Linked DNA regions of Homo sapiens: regions 1, 2 and 4 are each linked to region 3. Evidence: promoter capture Hi-C in 16 types of primary human blood cells and fetal thymus (Javierre and others, 2016). All regions are on one chromosome and are shown on one strand. Each heading gives the region's core, a stretch centred on a gene start or on the middle of the fragment in contact. The rest is flanking DNA. Distances are from core to core; before and after follow the strand shown.

What was found. Contacts are between HindIII fragments. The CHiCAGO score rates a contact against its expected background, and 5 or more counts as called.
Region 1: a contact is called between a fragment that was not itself captured here and the fragment with the promoter of CDX1 in region 3, in 1 of 17 cell types (megakaryocytes). The highest score is 5.1, in megakaryocytes.
Region 2: a fragment that was not itself captured here is called in contact with the fragment with the promoter of CDX1 in region 3 in 4 of 17 cell types (megakaryocytes, endothelial precursors, M1 macrophages and 1 more); the score reaches 6.6 in megakaryocytes.
Region 4: a contact is called between a fragment that was not itself captured here and the fragment with the promoter of CDX1 in region 3, in 1 of 17 cell types (endothelial precursors). The highest score is 5.6, in endothelial precursors.

Annotation. Positions count from the first base shown.
Region 1 is chr5:150,004,147-150,008,216 of GRCh38, forward strand. It overlaps HMGXB3 (HMG-box containing 3), which reads left to right. Exons shown (of 20, transcript NM_014983.3): 2 at 705-843; 3 at 2,327-2,501. The coding sequence starts at 707. Among named protein-coding and RNA genes, the nearest start is that of HMGXB3, 5.4 kb to the left of the region's middle. The HindIII fragment of the contact is 1,858 bases long and covers 1,719-3,576 here.
Region 2 is chr5:150,332,259-150,336,152 of GRCh38, forward strand. It overlaps LOC105378225 (a long non-coding RNA gene), which reads right to left. Exons shown (of 3, transcript XR_944406.2): 3 at 2,624-2,839. Among named protein-coding and RNA genes, the nearest start is that of TCOF1, 23 kb to the right of the region's middle. The HindIII fragment of the contact is 3,533 bases long and covers 1-3,496 here.
Region 3 is chr5:150,164,435-150,168,249 of GRCh38, forward strand. It overlaps CDX1 (caudal type homeobox 1), which reads left to right and starts at 2,344. Exons shown (of 3, transcript NM_001804.3): 1 at 2,344-2,887. The coding sequence starts at 2,443. The HindIII fragment of the contact is 7,821 bases long and covers 1-3,815 here.
Region 4 is chr5:150,383,401-150,387,157 of GRCh38, forward strand. All of the region lies in intron 17 of TCOF1 (treacle ribosome biogenesis factor 1), which reads left to right. Among named protein-coding and RNA genes, the nearest start is that of TCOF1, 28 kb to the left of the region's middle. The HindIII fragment of the contact is 2,085 bases long and covers 608-2,692 here.

The DNA.
Region 1 (4,070 bases), core at 1,398-3,897, 160 kb before region 3:
TATAGGCGTGAGTCACTGCGCCCATCCAATTATTTTTAAATAGAGTTGTGTCTATTGTATCCTTTGAGTCTTATCACTATAAATCTGTGGGAAGGTAGTTGAGACATGTCTTTTTTTATACATGAGAGAGAAAGCTGAACAAAAAGCAGCTAAAAGACCTGACCAAAATTGCACAAGCTGGCAGAGTATAAAGAAATCTTTTACATACAGGCCCTTACTACATGTTTGAGTGAATCAATGAAGGGATTTGCTTAAGTTGATGAAACATAGGAGGAATGGGCCAGAACTTCTGATTCCTGGCCAAGCATTTTTTTTTAACCTGTTTCCATATAGAATTGTTATAATTTGGGGCTAATAAATCTTTGTGTTAAAGGGGTGGGTGGGTACTGTATCCCATGAATATAAGTGAAAAGTATTTCTAAGGCAGTGGTCACAAACTTGCCCGGTCTGAGGAATCACCTGAGGCATTTGTTAAGCATGTGGATTTCCATACCCTCGGGAGATTCTGCTCCAGGAGGGCTGAAGTGGAGCTCTGGAATCTTGTGTGTTAAACAACCAAGCCAGGTGCTTCTTAGGATATATTGGGTTTGGGAAATGTCTAAGCCTTAAGGCACTGGCAGAGGTAAGGGGTTATTTGATCAGGAAGCTGCTGCCCCTCTTAGGGGAGATTCTGGAAACTTTATTTTGACTTTCCTTTCCTTTAGCCATGGACGCATCATATGATGGTACTGAGGTAACTGTCGTGATGGAGGAAATTGAGGAAGCCTATTGTTACACCTCTCCTGGGCCACCCAAGAAGAAGAAAAAGTATAAAATACATGGAGAAAAGACAAAGAAACCCAGGTTAGCCAACACATTTTGGTTGCTGCTAGCATTTATAAACAGAAGTTGCTTGGAGAGCTGCATTGAGGAAAACTTTTAAGACTCTTTGAAAAAGAGTGTTATGATTGAAGTCCTGTGTCGAGGGATGAGGAGTGGGAAGTGGAGGGATTTCTGCCAGCATTGCCATTACTGGCCAGACTTTGCTTTTGTTTTCAAGTTGTCACAGGAAATTGTACCATACTGATGGTAGAAGCTAGGTACAAAAGAGCTACATTATTTATTATTATGCCATTGTTGTTATTTAAACATTTAAAACAAAGCATTAATAAAATTACAAAATTAGAAATAAGGCTGGGCGTGATGGCTCATGCCTGTAATCCCAGCAGTTTGGAAGGCTGAGACGGGTGGATCACCTGAGGTCAGGAGTTCGAGACCAGCCTGACCAACGTGGAGAAACCCCGTCTCTACTAAAAATACAAAATTAGCCGGGCGTGGTGGCGCACACCTGTAATCCCAGCTGCTTGGGAGGCTGAGGCAAGAGAATCACTTGAATCTGGGAGGCGGAGGTTGCGGTGAGCCAAGATTGTGCCATTGCACTACAGCTTGGCCAACAAGAACGAAACTCCTCTCAAAAAAAAAAAAAAAAGAAAAGAAAAAGAAAAAAAACACACAAAAAGAAATAATACCAATTATATCTGTACAGAATATCCAAATTGTAGCTCTAACTTCACTCTTGACTGTGAATACCTCAAACTTGTGAAACTACCAGCATTGGTCATTTTGATTGGTCTGCTTGCTTCCCTCTCTCATCCTTGGGGAGGTGCCATTGACCAGGTTGGTGACCAAAGGCTGCGTAGAGGAGCACGGAGTGTGAGTGATAACCAGCCCCTTGAGGAAGCTTTCCCTGAGAGTGGAATGACAGGACAGGACACCTGTATCTATCTTTGCTTTAAAATCATTCCTGCACAAAAAGCGATCTTTAGGAAAGCCAGTCAAATGAGCCTTTGCTTCCAGGTTTCTGAAGGGGAAACAGCCACTTGCTATCTTTACCATTCATTTTCCCCTCCTCCCTTGGAGCCCCTTATCTTCCTGGGTAGTTACTCCTGACTGTAATATAGTGGCTCTAATGTAGTAACTTTAATATGGTAGCTTATATAAGCATTTCTCCTATACCATGAGTTTTTATATTACAAATTGAATGTAATATAATTTGTGTTGTACTGACAGCTATCAGTTATAATCAGGAATAAGATTATAACTTATTATAACACCATCTGAGGATGTTATTTAAATGTTTGTTTGCTTGACTTTCAGTCCCTATTTAGATAAATGCTTAGAAATGAGAAGCTAGGTTTTATCAACCTCTTGACTACCCATATCTTAGCATAGTAGTACTTACTGGTTGAATGAAGTCCTGGGTCGAGGGATGGGGAGTGGGAAGTGGAGGGATTTCTGCCAGCATTGCCATTACTGGGAAAGCCTGAAGAAGTCATTGCTTCCTCAGGTCTGCTTACCTTCTGTACTATTACGACATCTACCTGAAAGTGCAGCAGGAGCTCCCCCACCTCCCTCAGTCTGAGATCAATAAGAAGATTAGTGAGAGTTGGAGGCTTCTCAGCGTGGCCGAGAGGAGTTACTACTTGGAGAAAGCCAAACTAGAGAAGGAAGGTTTGGATCCTGTAAGTAATTTTTTTTTCCAGCTATTTTTTCCACTGGTTCAGTGATGAAGGCCTTGGGAAAACCAAGCCCCTTGTTCTGTTTCCTTTTCTTTTTTTGGGAAAAGTTTCATCGTTTTATCCTTCTTGACTCTGGGCTTGCTTGTTTCCATTTTGATAATGCCCTGCACTCTCTTGTCCTCTTCGGTTGCAGCAATACGTGGAGCTGACATTTTTTTGTGTTTTCTGCAGTGAGCCTTAGGTTCCTTTTCTAAATTTTAGTGTAACTTGGAGCCCCTCATAGTTACTATAAATAGTAGCTTTAATGTAGTAAACTTTAATATAGTAGTTTATATAGGCATTTCTCCTACGCCATGAGTTTTCATATTACAGATTGAATGTAGTATATTGTACTAACTGCTATCAGTTATAATCAGGAATAAGGTTTGCATGTTTAGAGGTAGATAGAGCTGCTTGTGTAATACAGTACCACATTATTTTGTTAGCACTGGTGGTTGGAAACTATGCTGAAAGCAAAAATGCAAGTAAAGCCAAAGATGGTGGAGGAGACCAAGGCTTTGGGTGCTTGGGTTAAAGGACTAACAAGGAAGCATTTAGAATTATGTCTGTCAGCATTTTCTTATTTCTAGTTCACAGTAACAAAATACACTGACAGCTATTTAAACTGCTGGGTTTTTGTTTTTTTGAGAGTATCCCTGTCATGGCATAAACTGCTGTTTTTTTAAACTGAAATTCCTGCAGGAAGAATAACCTTGCTGTTGCAGGCTGGAACCTTTTATCCTTAACTCCTTATTTCAATAGAAACAGTTGTCTGTAACTTCTATTTTGGTAATGTAGAGCAACAGCAACAACTACGTTATAGCAGAACAGGTTGTATTTTCCCTTATTGGAGCTCATCAGCTACTGCCATTTAAATTATTTTGTGCTTATTGGCCTGGCATTCTTCTTTCTGGGAGAGCTTTGTCTTACCTACAGGCTTGGAGATGCTACTCTCTGCTCCCTCCTCTAGGTGATTTGTTTATTAACAGTGAATCTGGGAAATAATCCCTATAGTGGAGTGGAGATGGAGTCTAAGAAAAGCTTATCTACTCCCTTTGGTTTCCTTATTATAATAAAATCAGCTGTCTAGGCTGGGTGTGGTAGCTCATGCCCGTAATCCCAGCACTTTAGGAGGCTGAGGTGGGAGGATCACTTGAGCCCAGGAGTTTAAGACTAGCCTGGGCAAGTTGGCGAAACTCTATCTCTACAAAAAATAGGAAAAGATTAGCCAGGCGTGGTGGCATACACCTGTAGTCCCAGCCACTCAGGAAGCTGATGTGGGAGGATCACTTGAGCCGGGGAAGTGGAGGTTGCAGTGAGCCGTGATTGTGCCACTGCACTCTAGCCTGGGCAACAGAGTGAGACTCTGTTTCACACACACACACACACACACACACACACACACACACACACACAAATCAGCAATCTTTTTGTGCATGATAAAATCCTACGTAATCCTGGAGTGATTTGATTTTTAAAACTACACACTAATGTAGATCATTATCAAGACTTTAAAAAAATTTAAATCATCTG
Region 2 (3,894 bases), core at 480-2,979, 170 kb after region 3:
CTTTATATCACTATTGCAAATGGAAAACCAGTCTCACCTGCCATAAATAAGAGCTAAAAGTAAAAATAAATACAATAAAAACAATGCTATTAAATTCTAACTAGATATTGTTGCTTGCCAAAGGCTGCAAGTCCAAGGCTTGCTCTTTAAAAAAATGTTTTAATATACATACGTGTATATATATATTAGCAAGGTTTAGAGAGGTATTAAAGACACGTTAGCATCGAATTGAAATGGTATAATGAGAAGGATTGAAAATATAACTGAACTTTTCATCTCTTTCTCAGTAAGTGGTTCCACGTTGTTCAGTGCTGTACCTGGGCATCACCTAGGTTCACTGTGGGGCATGTCCCTTCAGTAGGTTCACCTAGTGTAAAACTCCTTGTTCTGCCACATGGTAAAGGAACCTAAACTATCACCTCTCAGGCCACACGAATATTGTCCAGAGAGTCCATTTGGTTTCTTCTCTTCTGAGCTAGGAAGAGCTTTGCATTATTGCAAAAGCAGTCCCTCAGATTCAGGCCTGGGGCTTCCCTCTCATGGTCTTCCCCGGATAAGAAGAGGCAGACTAAAACCCCACAAGCCTATCACCTGGAGATTGTTAGAGATGTCAGTGGTTCTGGAGCTGCCAACAGGACTCAGCTGGACAGAAATACACTTTCTTTAGTGCAGGTCTGGTGACAGCTGGGCCTGCAAGTGATGCTTTTGCTTGTGGGGCAGAGAGAGCAGACACAGCTCTGGGGGTGCTGGCCTCCAGAGCCGGGAGTGGGGGTCTACAGGAAAAGCCTGTTGGAAGAGCTCAGCATACCCCGGGAGGGTCAAGGCTGGACTCATCCTCTCTGGGGCTGGCTGCAGAGCCAGGGTGGTATCAGGCCAGGCCTTGACATGTGGGCAGGAGGACCCAGGTTCTAATCCCACCTGCTGCTGGCCCACTGTGTGACCTTGAGCAAGGCCCTTTTCCTCTGCAGGGCAACATCCTCTCTGTACAATCGGTGCACATACTGGCTCTGACTATCTCTGCAAGGAGTAGGGGTATAAGAATGCTTGCTGGCTCACAACTCTATCTTCAGCACGTGGTTTCACTCAAATAAATGGCTGCTGCTATTATCATTATAACAATAATTATTATTTGGTCTTCACGATTCTTTGAGAAAGGGTGAGATGAGCAACAATTTTCTCATTGACAGGGGCAACATATAGAAACGTTTTCATACACAGAAGTAGTCCGTATATTTGATAACAATATTTCTTTTTCCTTCCTGCCAGGCGCCTTAGTGCCTGAGGGCAGCATCAGTCCTTGGCCTGGGCTCAGCTTCTGAAGCTGGCCTGATGACTTCTCTGTGATAGTGACATCGGCCTCACATTGAAGACAGCCTTTCTTTGTCTGACTCCAGAACAATATATGAAAAACCAGGGCTGCCTTTCCCCTGCTCCCTTCACCCCACACAGAGTCCCATCTCCAGGCCTTTGCTGTTGCTCTTGCTCTTGCCTTCCCCTACGATGTCCTCCTCTCTCCCTATGGCTTGATCCAGCCCTCAGAACCAACCTCCAAAACCCAGGTAATAGTAATAGTCCTGGCTCGGCCCCAGATTCTCTGATTGGCTGCTCTGGACCTCAGTTTCCCCATACAAAATAAAGGGATTGAACTGCATGACCTCCAAGCTCCTTCCAGTCGTGGCATTGGGAATGACATATGCAGTAGTGCCCACCATGAAAAGGAAATGACCCTGACTGCTTAGAGTCAACTGCTCAATGAAGACCCTGTCAAACTTGGAATCAGGAGAATGGGGACAATCAGCTCCATGACCCATGTGTATAGCCTTTATCCCATAAACTGTAGGCAACCAGAGGACAGAGGCCATGTGTGATTTACTAACCCTCACATCTGCAGGGTGGTCAATGCATAAAATTTGCTCAACAAATAATGATCAAATAAATATATGTATGCTTGAACTGTATGATAAGCATTCTTATTAGAAAACTGAAGTTGAAGTCAAATGCAATCAAGTTAACGCTCCTTGATTTTAAACTCCAAGGAGAGAAGCCCCCTCTTTCTTTTCCTCCAGGCTCAAACTGCAGCATTAGCCTGAGCTTGGGGCTGGGGGCAGAGAGGAGAACAAGGCTCTATTAACTTATTTTAGTTATCTAGAGAAAACTCACTTTTTTTTTTTTTGAGACAGAGTCTTGCTCTGTTGCCCAGGCTGGCAGGCAGTGGTACAATCTCAGCTCACTGCAATCTTCACCTTCCGGGTTCAAGCAATTCTCGTGCCTTAGCCTCCCAAGTAGCTGGGATTACAAGCACATACCACCAAACCTGGCTAATTTTTATATTTTTAGTAGAGATGGGGTTTTGCCATTTTGGCCAGGCTGTTCTCGAACTCCTGACCTCACGTGATCTGCCTGCCTTGGCTTCCCAAAGTGCTGGGATTACAGGCATGAGCCATCGCGCCCAGCCAAAAACTTCAAAGCTATGGGCATATTCAGGCTTTTTAATAGCTTTTCACCCTGCCTAGTATTCAATCATTGATTCCACAAACACTTCTTTTTTTTAACTTTTATTTTAGTTTTGGGGCTACATGTGGCTGTTTGTTACATGGGTAAACTTGTGTCATGGGAGTTTGTTGTAGAGATTATTTCGTCACCCAGGTATTAAGCTCAGTACCCAATAGTTAACTTTTCTACTTGAGAATATCTGTGTAGCTGGGGCTACAAAGAGTGTGAAGGACAGGCATGGAATTTGAGGAATCCGAATACTTGGTTTCCAGCCCCAGCTCTGATAGGAACTCTCTGTGTGATCTTGGGCAAATCACTTCTCTCCTCTAGGCTTTAGCATCCTCATCTGCAAAATGGAGTGTTGGACTTGTTAATATCTAAGGATGTTTCCTTTCTTATTATCTATGATCAACATCTTAACCTGTGAGCTACAGATTCCCAGAGCAGAGGGACTAGAATTTTTTTAAGAGGTCTGGGAAGTAGTCTATGCATCAACCATTATCTGTAAATAATATACAAAATTACGATTCCTTTTGTGTATGTTGGAGACAGGAGGTTAATCAACTTTGCATAAGGGCCTCACACTTGAAAGGGCAGAAGCTCTGGTGTGAATGGCACTGGCTATCATCCTGACTTGGACAGAGCTTACAGCCTAGCAAAGATATAACCCAAGCAACTTGAATACGATGAGAGAAACAGATGTGGGTCCTGAAAGTTCAGAGGCAGGAGAGACCAGTAAAAGGCAAGAAAGTTCTCTTAGAAGTCATAGACCCCACTGAGAAATTGAGACAATTATTGGCCTCCCCCCACTCCTACCATACCAAATGCACCAAATCTTACATACAATTGCCAGGTGATCACAGGCCTTCAAGTTCATCTCACAGAACTCATCACAGTTCTTAATCAAGGTTAAGAACTATTGATTTAGATAAACCTGTAAGCAGAAGTCGGGCAAGTCTGGAGCAAATCCCTAACTTGAATTCTTGAACCAGGGCACCATACAAGCTTGTAGGAGAGGCTAGAGACACTTTGGGATCGATGGCCCCAGGACCTGAGAGGTCTTGATCAGAGAGAAGGGGTCACGGGGAAGCTTGGGTGAAATAAGCCATGAGCCACCTTCTCTGTCTCTTCTGCTAGACGAAGCAATTTTTTATGCTGTTTCAGAAGGCTAAACTCATAAGCTTCAAAACATAAACAAGCAGAGCCTCTTAAATCACTGGGGAATTGTTTATGAATTAAATCATCTCTTCATAACAAACAGAGACCAGGCTGAGAATCCACAACCTCCATGATTAGATGTAGACAGGCAAGGAATCAAGAAGGGCCCCTGTGGGGATGAGACCTCATCCGAGATGGTCCCATTCAGAGGCAAGGCCAATGGCTAGAAAACCCTGCCTCTGT
Region 3 (3,815 bases), core at 1,094-3,593:
GACAGCCCATTTCCTGACAGATGGCCCCTTACAGAGCACTTTCTTACGTATGGGTGGGCTGAAATCCACATCTGTAGCCTGCAGTTTCCTCCCTGAGGTCCCAAGTCTGCCCTGTCTTCCTCCCCAGACTCAGACCCCACTCCAGGTTTTCTCTTCCTTCAGTCCAAGCAGTCCCAGTTCTCTCAGCTCAGAAAGTGGAGTTCAGTCCTCTTGGGCCTCTTCTCCCTCCTCTGTGTACTTGCCAGTTTCCCACCAATCCCTTGAAAACTTGAGTCCTAAGCAGAGCCCAGAGCTCCAGAGAAACATTTCAGCACCGCATCCACTTCCTGACCTGGGAAAGTGGGATCTTCCCTGCTGAGGCAGCCATGTGCTCATCTGTGTCATGTGCTGATCCACACACATGTGGACAGCCATGTGCTCCTGCAAGGTAGCCAAGGGCTCCGCCCGGTCAGCAACAGCCAGGATTTCCCTTCCCCTCTCCTACAAGCAGCCTTCATGTTGCAGCAAACACTGGGCATTACTCCTTTCCTTTCTGAGCCTCAATGCTTCTACCTGTGCAATGGAAAGGGTTCCTCTGAGCAGGAAGCGGAGGGAGCCCTGTGCTGGCTGAGTCTCTGGCTCTATCACATATCAGAGCCCCAGAAGAGCAAGAGTCTCACCAGGGCCAGCTTCCCAGGCGGGTCACCATTGCAGTCACACAGAGCCCAGTGTGTGGAAGGGCCCCGGGCTCAGGTGAATGCTCTGCTGCCACCATCCTGAAATCCTTAATCATTTTTGAACAAGGGACCTTATATTTTTTATTTTGCTCCCGGCCCTGCAAATTATGTCCTGATCCCGAAACATCTGCCCAGCCCTGAGATGATACTGACCAGCCCCCGGCTAATATGGTGACCCAAGAGAGAGACGGGTTGAACAGATAAGACCCTGATTCTGACCTTCTTCTGGGGACCACACATCCCTGCACAATGAGAGGAACCCAGGAAATGTGGGCCCATCCAATCCCACAGGGTGCTTCTGCACAGCTCCCTGGCACAAAGCCCTTGTGCGGAGGGACCCCATCTGACTTCCTGACCCAGAGCCCTGTCCTTCATGCACCCTTCCCCAAATCCCTCAGCCTTGTCCCCACTCCCAGTTCACTGACACCCCCTCAAGTGTTCCCAGCCCCCACTCCCCCTTAGGTAGCTATGAAATGTTTGCCAGTCCTTCATATGGAGTGGAGGAACACGTGATGCATTTAAAATCCCAAGGGGGCTCCAGCCATAATAAATGGATCAGGGCTTTTGGATCCCGATTCACACAAACAGACTGCTAAAAAGACATTTTTGAATCAATTGGAGTACTTTGAATACGAACTGTGTGTTAGGTAATACCCAGGAATTTGTGTTAATTTTGCTAGATGTGATAATGGCATATTATGTAAGAAAATGTCCATGTGTTTTAGAGATGCGTGCTGAAGTATGTAGGGGTAAAATGACATGATGTCTGGAATTTGTTTTAAAATACTTCAGAAAAGCGGGGAGTAGGTGAAATAAGTGTGACAAAACCTTAATAGTTGTTGAAGCGGGGTGATGGGTACACAGCAGTTCATTATACAATTCTACTTTTGTGTATGCTTGAAACCTCTCAATTAAAAAAAGAGGGTAGAGAGTCATCAAGATAATTTACTAAAAGTTTCCTGTAATGTCCCCAGAAGACCCCCCTAACTCACACACACACACACCCACACACACACTGCCTTTTGAGAACTTTCTCTAGAAGGCCAACCCAGGCAGTCCCCCAACTGTAAGGAAGACTCGTGTATGTATGTGCATATGTGCATTTCCCCAGGGAAAAACATCCACAGCTTCCATGACGAGAGGGGTCGTGACCCCTCCCCGCCAAAAGATTAAGGACCTGCGATCCTACAGACCGGAGCCCTGTTTGAAGTCTGCGTTGCCCCTCACCTCAAGCTGGTCACTGTGTGAAGTTGGCCTAGAATCCCCCGGCCCCTGGGAGCTTGTTCCTCCGCCTGTAAAATGGGGCTGCAGGGCCGTCCACGCGGCCACCGGAAGGACAAGGTGTTCAGGCCGCTAGGCCGCTCCCTGGCAAGCGATTCCCACTCGCAGCGCGGCCTCGACCCTCGCCCAAGACGCGCCCTCCGCGCCCCCACCCCCTCCAGGCCCTGGCCAGTCCACCTCCCGCTTGGGGCGGCAATTTGTCTCCTTTTGAACCCCCCGCCCCCGACGGGTTTCCCCCTTTGATTCGCGGCCCGGAGGCTTCCCCCCGCTTTGAAATGCAAACCCGCCTCGGCTGGGGCCGCGGGCGGCCCGGAGCTATAAAAGGCCTGGGTGGGGCGGGCGCGGCGGCAGGACAGCCGAGTTCAGGTGAGCGGTTGCTCGTCGTCGGGGCGGCCGGCAGCGGCGGCTCCAGGGCCCAGCATGCGCGGGGGACCCCGCGGCCACCATGTATGTGGGCTATGTGCTGGACAAGGATTCGCCCGTGTACCCCGGCCCAGCCAGGCCAGCCAGCCTCGGCCTGGGCCCGCAAGCCTACGGCCCCCCGGCCCCGCCCCCGGCGCCCCCGCAGTACCCCGACTTCTCCAGCTACTCTCACGTGGAGCCGGCCCCCGCGCCCCCGACGGCCTGGGGGGCGCCCTTCCCTGCGCCCAAGGACGACTGGGCCGCCGCCTACGGCCCGGGCCCCGCGGCCCCTGCCGCCAGCCCAGCTTCGCTGGCATTCGGGCCCCCTCCAGACTTTAGCCCGGTGCCGGCGCCCCCTGGGCCCGGCCCGGGCCTCCTGGCGCAGCCCCTCGGGGGCCCGGGCACACCGTCCTCGCCCGGAGCGCAGAGGCCGACGCCCTACGAGTGGATGCGGCGCAGCGTGGCGGCCGGAGGCGGCGGTGGCAGCGGTAAGGACCCTTCCCTCGCCCTGCGCCTCTGGACCTGCAGGTGCTCGGGCGCGGCCCAGGCCGCCCCCTGTCTGACCTCTGCTCCGGCCCTGCTCGGGTTCCCGGGAGTGTGGCCCTCCTGTCCACTCTCGCCCTGGGGGGCTGCTCTTTGGCTCCCTCTCCTCAGTCTCAGGCTATCGGAGCCTTCAGCAGCACAGCCTAACCCTCTCTCTGTACAGATAGGGAAACCGAGACCCCCTGCGAAGTGCGGAAATGCGCCTGCGGCCGCGGAGCAAGACCCGAACTAGAACGCAGGCTCCCAGACTCGTGTCCCACACTCATTTAGCAACACCGACTCCGTGCTCTTCATCTGCTTCTTCCACTCCTAACCCAGCCCTAGGCAAAGGCGGCAGGTTCGCCCCAGAAGGGACGATTAACTAACTGTGTGAACAGGGCAGGTGACTTTCCTGGCCAGGGCTGGGTCTCCCCATCACACAGTCAAGACATTGCTGGGTCATATCCTTCAGGCTGAAAAAGAGCCCTCTTTGGCCAGACTGGGGCAAGGGGTCTGTACCTTACCTTCTCAGGGTCCTCCCTGAACTCTTGACCCCGGGGGAGGGGAAGCGGGAGCAGTGGGAAGGGGGGCTACTGTTTGGCTCCTGAGCCTGTGAACCTCCTGCCCCCAGGCAGGCCTCTCTGATCCGCCCTCTTCAAAGGCAGGGTAGGGGGCAGGACAAAGGGCCCAACTTTAATGAGGGGCGGCTTGACCTCCGTTATGGGTCCCCCCTTTGTCATGCAACTGGCTCTGCCTTGGCTCGGTAGTGACTCCTGTTGGCCGGAAAGTGAACACGACGTTCCATTGTCCGGACTGTGTCCGGCCTGTCCTGACAAAGGCCACCTAGCCTTGGGGGCGGGAAGCTGGCCTGCCCACCCTTTGATGTCCAGCCCC
Region 4 (3,757 bases), core at 400-2,899, 220 kb after region 3:
CCCAGCTCTTCCACCCAACAGCCCCATGGTCCTGGGCAGATGCCTTTTCCCCTGTGTGAGGCTCAATGTTTCAGCCATAAAATGGGGACAGTACTGGCACCTCTCTCCTGCCTCTGTGCACTGGTGCCAGCACACAAGGTACTTGCCACAGTCCCCTGCCTAAGAAAGGGTGCCTGTTAACTGTGAGAAGGGCAGGGAGTGTTGCCCCATTTGACAGATTGGGAATCAAGCCTTAGAGTTGAAGCAGTTTCCCCAAATTCTCATGATTCATAAGAGGCTGAGGAAAGGTCCAAACGCTGGTCCCCTGGCTCCCTGTATCTCTCTGTTTTCTGTTTAGGACCAGGAGTCTTCTTGAATCCCATGAGCTCTGCCCAGGACCCTCTCTCAAGCACCTGTGGCATACCTTCATGTGCTCCACTGCACCCAGAGCTTAAGCCACAGTCCTGCTCAGGCTACACCTCCAAGGGTGGGACCAGGCCCACCTTATCTTCCTGTACTCCAGAGGCCCAAGTCAGCCATGCTGGTGTGGTCCAAGCTTCTGTGTGAACCCTGGCCCTTCCATCAGACAGCATTACCCTTTGTCCTCCTCTAGCCCCAAGCTCCCAGAAGCTTCTGCCAGGCACCTCAGAGCACCAGCTCCCCTGTCCCAGGGCCTAACCACAGATCCTGGAGTTCTGCAACCTCCAGACCAGAGCGGTCTCATGAACCACCTCCCCTTGAATATCACATACCACATTGTTATCAATTCATCAGTAAGGTCAGATGCTGTTTGCACACCTCCAGCAATAGGGTGCTCACTGCCTCTCACTTTCCAATGGCACAGATTACAAAAGTAAAGAACAACCACCACCAACATCGGTAACTCCCTGTATTCTCATTTTTCTGTTTAATCTCCACAACAGCCCTATGAGGGTGGCTCCCTTTGTTGTTTGCATTTTAAGGAACTGGGAGTGAGGCTCAGAGAAGTTGAGGGACCTGTCCCAGCATCACATGGCTGATGACAAGTGGACAGACCTGGTGTTTGAGCACAGGCCATTCACATTCTGACCCGTTGCCTGGTGCTGCCCCGACACTCTCCTCTCCTGGGCTTGGGCATTGCCCTCTGGCTCTGTGTGGAGCCTTTACGAGGCCACCTGCCTCTCTGAGGGATCTAAACAACTGGGAGGGAGGGGACCGCTCCCCCTTTCTCTGTGGGGGTGGACTAACACAATTAAAATGAACATCCTGCTTAAACTGAACCATTTAATTGGTATGTTAGTCCTGAAGATTCTGGAGTCTATTTAAAAAGCAGAAAAGAAGTCAGCGGTTTGTACATTCCCCCAGGAGGATTCGGGGAAGACGGGCATAGCCCGGGGAAGCTGCAGCCTCTTCCTGATTGAGAGATTTTTAGTTCCTAATCCCCAGCTCACTAATTATGATTATTTTCATTATTGTACATTTATTGAGCACCTCTCTATTGACAAGTTTCAGTCTGATTTTATTAGCCCATCAGTGGGGAAAGGGATTGAGGCCAGGGTGGTGGGCAGAGTCCCAGGCTGGGAGGCAGGGATAGATACCTTGGCTCCATTCCTAGACCCCTCACTGTGCCTCCGCCCTGTTGTGCAGAGTAGACCTCAGGCCAGAGTCTGTGCTGGGGTCAGGACAGCTTCCAGATTTAAAAACAAGTAGGTGATACATATGTTAAATAACTTAATTTAGCTATTCCACAATGTATATGTGTATCAAAACATCATGTTATATACCACAAATATATGCAGTTTCACTTGTCGGTAATATTTTTTAAGGCCAACTTCTTCTATTAGTTTGTCAAAGACGTAGGCCCTGCTCTCAAAGTTTTAGGTTGAATCAAAGAAAAAGGAAACCTGTAAGAAACTAAATTCTGGTGTTACATTGAGGCCTAGCATAATTGGTTCTAGAAGGAGCTCCAGTCTGGTGCCTGGAGAACTAACTTCTAATCCTGGCTCTGGCACCAGTTTGCTGGTTGCCCTGGGTGAGGCCACTTGCCTTCTCTGAGCCTCATTCATCTCAATCTCTGGGATGAGACTTCCTGGGTTGGTGGGGTGGACCTTGAGGCTCCAGGCCACATCCCCAGAGAGTAGAATTTCTCAGTCCCCTGGAGTGGGGCTGGCCTAGATCTGTTAAGCAGCCTCAGGCAATTCTGAGAGAGGTTCTTGGAGTGTTTGTTGCCTTTGTGGTCATGTCCCTTGCCAGGGTCCGCAGCCTAGGCCATCAGCCCCCTCTCCCCACTCTGTGACTTGCTGGAATGAAGGCACAGTTAGAATGAGCTCAGCTTTGACAGGATGGGGTGAGCACTGTCCAGAAAGCCCCTAGGTTTGGTTCTGCAGGCATCAGACCTACAGGTAGGAGGGGTATCCCAGGGTTCCCTCTGGGTCCTTACTGCCCAGCACCTATAGGGAGGTACAACCAAATGTTCAGGCCAGTGCTGGTTTTGCTGCTTCACTCCCATCAGTTTTTTTTCTAACTGACCCCAGAACTACATTCCTGTGTATACTGTGCTTTCCAGTTTCCACAGTGCATTGGAACCCCTCCAGTGAATGAGCCCAGGCTGGGATAACTACTAGCCGTTTCATTAAACGGGAAACTGAGGATCAGAAAGTTGAGGGGCTTGACCACACAGTGAAGTCATGAGAGAGGCGTAATGAGAAGCAGGTCTTCTCCTATACCCTGGGCAAGCTTCACTGCCCACCTTTATGAACTCTACAGGCTAATGCCCCGCCCCAACCCCCCACAGCCAAGCCCCCTGCACCACCTCCCTCCTACGGCCCAGAGGCCCAGTGGGGTGGCGTGGGCAGGTGGAACTAACAGGAGGCTTTTGCTGCTGAGCTGCTTTTAACATCCCAAGACGCTATTGTTTGCCTCAGTGGGTTCGTTGCTTCTCTTCGTCCCCGACAATCTGTTCCTGTCTTCACATATATATAGATCCCCCCTCCCTCAACTGTAAGCCTTCTCCCACTTTCCATCCTTCTCTTTTTTATATCGTGGGAAGGAAGGCTCTGGAAGTGGCAGATCGGAGCAGCCGCGGGGGAGGCTATTTGGCAGGGGTAGGAAAGGCCTAAGCCCAGAGAAGCTTCCACCCTCAGGCAGGCACCTTTCTGTTTTACTTTTTACTTTATGCCTCTCCACAGCACCTTAGCACCCTGAGGAGCCAGGTGTGCTAAGTCAGGCTCAGGGGGTAAACAGGATGGTGAAACAGAGACCAGTCTGGACCTGATTCCACTCCTCTCTTAGCCTCAGGCAGCTCCCTCTTCCTGCCCTCCAGCTCTTCACTGGCCAGAGAGGGAGCAGAGCTCAAACCAGATCTGACATTTGGGGAATGGAAAGTAGACCTGACCAGCTCCCTGGCTCACAACCATGTGTGTTCTCGTTAGCTGGAGGTTCAGGAAGGAAATGGGCCTGGAGATGCCCTCGTGTGCGGTGAACATGTTCAGGGATGGTGCAGTTCAAAACCAGACTGGCCTGCAGAATACCAGGGAGCTGCTGTTGCTTGTTTGCTTTTTCTTTTATTGTTTCCTTGGAAAATTTAAAGCATACCCAAAGATAGATAATGTAAAGAACCCCCACGTACCATCCCCAGCCTCAACAGTTAGGAACTCCTGAGCAGGCTCGTTTCACGCAAACCCTCCACTCAGTTCCCCAACGCCCCTGGATTACTTTGCAGCCAGTCTCAGACATGTCAGCTCATCCACCAGGATTTCAGTATGCAGCTCTCAGTTATAAGGACCTTTTTAAGCACAAC